Linked DNA regions of Homo sapiens: region 2 is linked to region 1. Evidence: promoter capture Hi-C in 16 types of primary human blood cells and fetal thymus (Javierre and others, 2016). All regions are on one chromosome and are shown on one strand. The core of a region is centred on a gene start or on the middle of the fragment in contact, and the rest is flanking DNA. Distances in the headings are between cores, read along the strand shown.

The links. The method cuts DNA at HindIII sites, captures the fragments that hold promoters and counts their contacts. A CHiCAGO score of 5 or more calls a contact.
Region 2: a contact is called between a fragment that was not itself captured here and the fragment with the promoter of IL36A in region 1, in 1 of 17 cell types (M2 macrophages). The highest score is 5.2, in M2 macrophages.

Annotation. Positions count from the first base shown.
Region 1 is chr2:113,004,000-113,006,844 of GRCh38, reverse strand. IL36A (interleukin 36 alpha) reads right to left here and starts at 1,386. Exons shown (of 4, transcript NM_014440.3): 1 at 964-1,386; 2 at 758-871; 3 at 108-247. The coding sequence starts at 973. The HindIII fragment of the contact is 6,987 bases long and covers 1-2,845 here.
Region 2 is chr2:112,603,987-112,606,995 of GRCh38, reverse strand. All of the region lies in intron 1 of LOC124907869 (a long non-coding RNA gene), which reads right to left. Among named protein-coding and RNA genes, the nearest start is that of CHCHD5, 21 kb to the right of the region's middle. The HindIII fragment of the contact is 946 bases long and covers 853-1,798 here.

The DNA of each region.
Region 1 (2,845 bases), core at 137-2,636:
AAACCAAAAATAAAAATGCATGAGCATAATAAGTACATTGTCTTTTAAAAGATCCTGAAATCTGAGTTTCCATCAAATAAATGGCAGGACCTGTCTTCCACACTCACCTTCAGCTGCAGTGTGGGCTGGTCCCCGACTTTAGCACACATCAGGCAGAGATTGAGTCCATTCAGGCCCAGGTAGATGGGGTTCCCTCTGTCTTTCTCAAGGGTCTCCACATGTCGGCATGAGATTAAGGCAATAGTGACTGGGAACACGATGTGAAAAGTGGTGTTCAGCTGCCATTTCCAGGGTGGTACCTCTGAGCCAGAGTTTTAAGGGAATCTGCTAACTGACACTCACAGTGCACTCATAGAATGGTCACCTCACCACCCACCACCTAACCGGGACACCCATCCTATGTTTGGGGAACACTTTCCATTAGAAAAGTCAGTCTTTCATGGATTCAAAAACTGGTCCTCCCATAGATTACCCTCTTTTGTCCTACTCTTACTCCTTGAAGTTTCTCAGAATACGTCTTCCACTGTTTTTCATAGGCTGACCCTTCAGTCTCCCTTAAGCCTTCTCTCTCTTCTCTGACTTCATGACCATAGTCCCAGAACAACCTTATGCTCACCCTCTATTCATTATTGTCTGTGAGATGCTCCTCTCTGTAGATATGCCCGGTTAACAAGCCCACTGTGGAATAACATCTGAGCACCAAACACACAACAGCACTGGCCAAAGGAGCTGCCTTTCACAGACCGTGGCTACTCACCTGGAGACATACGGTCCTTCCTCGGGACTGCTATGAGCGTCTGGTCCTGAAGAACCCACACCCGATGATTGATATCCTGAATGCTCCCCTGCTGAGGTGTGTCAATTTTCAATGCTGTTGAGAAAGTCAAAATGTAAATTAGTAAGAATGAGAGCACAGAATATCACCCCCTTGTCAATTTTTCGCCCTTCCACGAGGATCTTTACCTTTTTCCATTGTGGTGGTGTTGTTTCAGAACTGCCAAGGATAGGAGTCCTTTTATGTGCAGACCGACCCCAAGAGAGGACCTGAGTCAGTCCCAAGCCACAGTTTAACCCTGGGTCAGATGAAAGACTGGCGGCCAGCCCAGCAGTGACCCCAGTCAGAATCTATACTCCCAGAACTCACCCAGCACCCTTACTTTGTTGGATGCAGTCTACCTCCAGCAGAAGCAGCTGCACCTATGAATCCTGCCCAGGCCTAGACCCAGGAACTCTAATATGACAAAGAGTGCCAAGGCCAAAGACCTGGAAGCAAAAAAAATCAGAGGTCACCAGACTTTCCAGCATAGGCCACACTGATAATCTGTTACGAAGGACCCTGTATCCCTACCATTATGAACAATGGCTTCTACTGCACTTGGGTTTTCTGACAGGCTGTAACAGGGCCCAGGCCTTTTATCCACATGGGCAAGGAAGGAAGTTCTGCCTCACTAAGTCTGGCACTGCCCAACACTCAGGATATTTTCTAGTTCCTGATGCCAGAGGATTTAGTGACTCTTTATGTGAACAGCATGGTTAAGACTTCTCCAAGCAACCTGAAACATGAGGGCATGCTAAACTTTTAAGAGCAGGAAATATAGTCACAGATACTGAGTTGAGAAACATTACGGGACTTCTTCCGGGTCAATGACTCATCTCTGATGCCACAAAATGAAACGATGGAATTATTCCTAAGAGTGGGAGCCCTCAGTAAGTGCAAGGTAGACTGAGGAGGGATAGGTCTCTTAAGACCTCTGTAGCTTCTAATCACTCCTGGTCCACAGGAACTATATTCTTGGTCAATTTCAGACCAGAAGCCCACTCACTCCAGTGACCCTCCTCCAGCTTCTCAGAGCCACTGTGCATGCTGCTTCTCCATGGAAGAAGGGAGTATTACTGTAGCAAAGCCAGCTCCTGAGCACTCTAGCCACCTCAATGGACTCTAGATCACTATCTCTAGTATAGGTAGCGTGATAGTAAATTTTAAGTGTCAATTTGACTGGTTTAAGGAATACTTAAAGAACTGGTAATACATTAGTTTGGGGTAAGTCTATGAGGGTGTTTCCAAAGAAGATTGGTGTGTAAGTCAGTGTACTAGTGGGGAACATCTACCCTCAACGTAGGTGGGATCCATCCAACTGGCCGGGGGCATGGATGGCATGGAAAAGACAGAGAAAAGGTGATTTTCTGTCTCTCCTGGAGCTGGGGCATTCTCTCCTGCCTTTGGACATTATAACTCCAGACTTTGGACTCCAGGACTTAATATCAGCATCTCCCTGGGTTCTCAGGCTTTCTATCCCAAAGTGAGAATTACACCAGTGGCTTCCTAGTTCTGAGGCTTTAGGACTTGAACTGAGCATGTTACCTGCATCCCAGGGTCTCCAGCTTGCAGGTGGTCTGTCATGGGATTTCTCAGCCTCCAAAATTGCATGAGTTCATTCCCCTAATAAATCCCCTTTCATACAAGAGGTCATCAAAAAGTTCATGGAAAATGCATATTATGAAAAAAACTATGCATGGATTTTGAATTATTTTGCACCAAAATAAACTCCTACTAACTTGTTATAAGGTGTTTGAACAGGATCTAGTTTGAGGCACTAAGAAAGGTAAGACATCAGTTTGAAAAGAGCCCCTATAAGATCAACATGAATTCTTCTAAAATTGAAGCAAGAACAAAAATCAAATTTATGGTGAAACTTGGGTGGAAGAATGGTGAAATCATTGATGGCTTATAAAAAGTTTGTGGGGACAATGACCCAAAGAAATCAGCAGTTTACAATGGATAACTCATTTTAAGAAGTGAGACAATATTGAAAATAGCACCTGCAGCAGCAGACCATCCACATCA
Region 2 (3,009 bases), core at 76-2,575, 400 kb after region 1:
GGGAGTGGGAATTTGGGGACCACCTAGAATTATGCCTTCCCATCCCTGAGAGCATGTGCATAGCTACCAGCTATAAAGCTGCTTGGCTGCAGTGTGGTATGGGCTTCACCTGGCACTCATGTTGCTGCCATTTGGCCCCTGTTGTTTTGGTGCCGCCCTGTGCAAGGGTCACAGGGACCTGGCACCTCTGTCTACTTGCGCTTTCACCATCTGTATGAGTAATATAAACTGCCTGATCTAAAAAATGGCTCCTTGTTGCTTTCCTGACCATGCATGTCAGCCAGGCCTTGCCTTGTGCTTGATACATAGCAGCTGTGGCTCCCCCAGGCTGCTGCTTAGGGGCTGCTGCTTAGGGGCTGCTGCTTGGCCATCTGACAGGAAGATACTCGGTCTACTAAGGGAGGAAAGAATGATACATGAAGGAACCACAGGACGTGGCCAAATGTCCAGTAGGTGCTGGGGAGACACACGGGGCTGGCTCTCCTCATGCTGCATCAAGTGGGACAAAGTTGGATAAAGGGAAGTTTATTGATGCGAGAGTGCTGCTGTGGGGTATGGGATTCACACCCCAGCAAGGAGGTGAAGATAGTACTAACACTCCACTCAATGGTCTCATGGAAGCCTGGAAAAAGCAATATCCCCCAGGAAAGCAGAACTGCCAGAAATGCCGTGCAATAGTGGATACAGGAATGAGGTGGCTCAGAGAAGCAGGCATGCTGGAGTGGATATGCTACTGAGGAAAGAAAACCCACCAGGTCACCGCAGTCCACAGGGGAGCCGTGGGCACCTTCTGTTTATCCAAACGAGGAGGAATGTGCTGTTCAATGGGGCCACCAGCATCAGCAAGAAGCTTGGTGGTGACTGTGGGCTGATCGTGGGAGATGATGTTACAGAGCTATGTTCCCAATACTAATGAGGATGAGTCCTGAAATAATAGAGGCCAGGTGACAACACTTCACTGCCAGAAGAATGCTGGGTGAGATTGCTGTAATACATGGCAAGAACAGATGTAATGTATGACAGGCAGGGGAGTCTGTTCCCATAGAGAATTATAGAGATGGGCCAGGCGCTGTGGCTTACGCCTGTAATCCCAGCACTTTGGGAGGCCTAGGTGGGTGGATCACCTGAGGTCAGGAGTTCAAGACCAGCCTGGCCAACATGGTGAAACACCCCAGTCTCCACTAAAAATACAAAAAATTAGCCAGGCGTGGTGGTGGGTGCCTATAATCCCTACTACTCAGGAGGCTGAGGCAGGAGAATCGCTTGAACCCAGGAGGCAGAGGTTGCAATGAGCCGAGATGGTGCTATTGCACTCTAGCCTGGGTAACAGAATGAGATTCTGTCTCAAAAAAAAAGAGAGAGAGTATTATAGAAATGATAATAGGACATAATTTTCCTAAGGGCAAAATACAGCTTAATTTATGCAATCAGAGGGAATCAGAAATGATCAAGGCTCAAGACACATCTCAATAAAAAACTATGATCCTTTGATCAGTTTCTAGACCTGAGCCAGTACCCCTTGACTGAATGGGATGCCAGCCCACATAAGGGAGGATCCTACATCACGGCAAATGTATGTGGTAATGATTCCCTCCAATCCTTCTCCAGAAAGACCTGAGGGCATGTACTCAGGTAAATGTACACTGGGGAAAAGGGAATAATCGACCTTTCAGGAACTATTGGACACAGGATCCAAGTTAACACTGAAAATCAGAGACTCAAACATCATCATTAAAGGGGCCAGGTAATACATGGGGTGCCAGGCCAGGCCAAGTTCCTACTGGGTGCAACACAAGCTTCCAAGAGTCCTTTCCCAATGGAATCCACAGGATGCACGTAATTCCTCCAGCAACAGGTTATGACAACACATGTGAAACATTGTCTACCAGGGAGGCTCATTAGAGACTCAGTGTGTAAGGTTTTAATGCAGGGAAGGTACTTACATTGGCGTCCACTGTCTGGCATGTACCAAAATTCTAGACTCTCAGAAGGAAAAGAGGTGTTCAGCATAAGCTGAACACTTTAGATACAGTGAGACACTCCGATGAGAGAATGATGGAAATCCAACTGACTAGATGCCAGCCAAGGGCCAACCTTGCAAGCCGACTTTTCCGAGAATAGCAGGCTCAGGCCTGCTGTGTTAACTTTTTTCTACACAGGCTGTTCACTTGGAATTATATATTCAACAAAAATATATTTCAAGAATGACAGTAAAATAAAGACATTTTTGGGCTAACGATATAGAGGGTTTGCTCCAAAAAGAGCTGCCATAAATTCTGAAGGATGTGCTTATGCAGAAGAGTAATCCAGGAAGATCAGAGACGCAGGAAAGAACAAAGAACACTGATGGTACAGTACCCTGTAAGAATGTCTTCTGGGCCCAAAAGAGCAAGAGAAACACAGCATGTAAGGGGGAGAGGATGTGAGGTTAATGTAATCAAATATCCTTATATAGTTGAAGGACAGTAGAGCTATTTCTTGATTTTATACATGTTAATTATGAATGTCAAAATATGTAAAGTTAATTACTAGGCCAGGCATGGTGGCTCACGACTGTAATCCCAGCAGTTTGGGAGGCCGAGGTGGGCGGATCACCTGAGGTTAGGAGTTCGAGACCAGCCTGGCCAACATGGCGAAACTGCATCTCTACTAAAAATACAAAATCTCCTTGTCTCCCTTTTGCCTAACTTGGTCCTTCCAGGTCCCTGACCAACTAGCCAAGCCATTTGCCACAGCTCAGGAGTCCATACTCATACCTACTTCAGGCCTCTTCTCCCTCTATACAAAGTGGATGGCCAAATACACTATTCAGCTCTGATTGCTGGGAAGATTTCCCCTCATGGCTATTTTGAGGGCCACCTTGAGTAGGGCTGTAGTATGATAGCAGTCTACTTCAGTGGATAACAGTCTATTTCAGCTCACACCAACAAGGCCCAGGATTGTTCTTCTATCAGTTGATCATACACACCTACCTGAGGCTATGGACATCAGCTGAGTCAATGGCTTCAA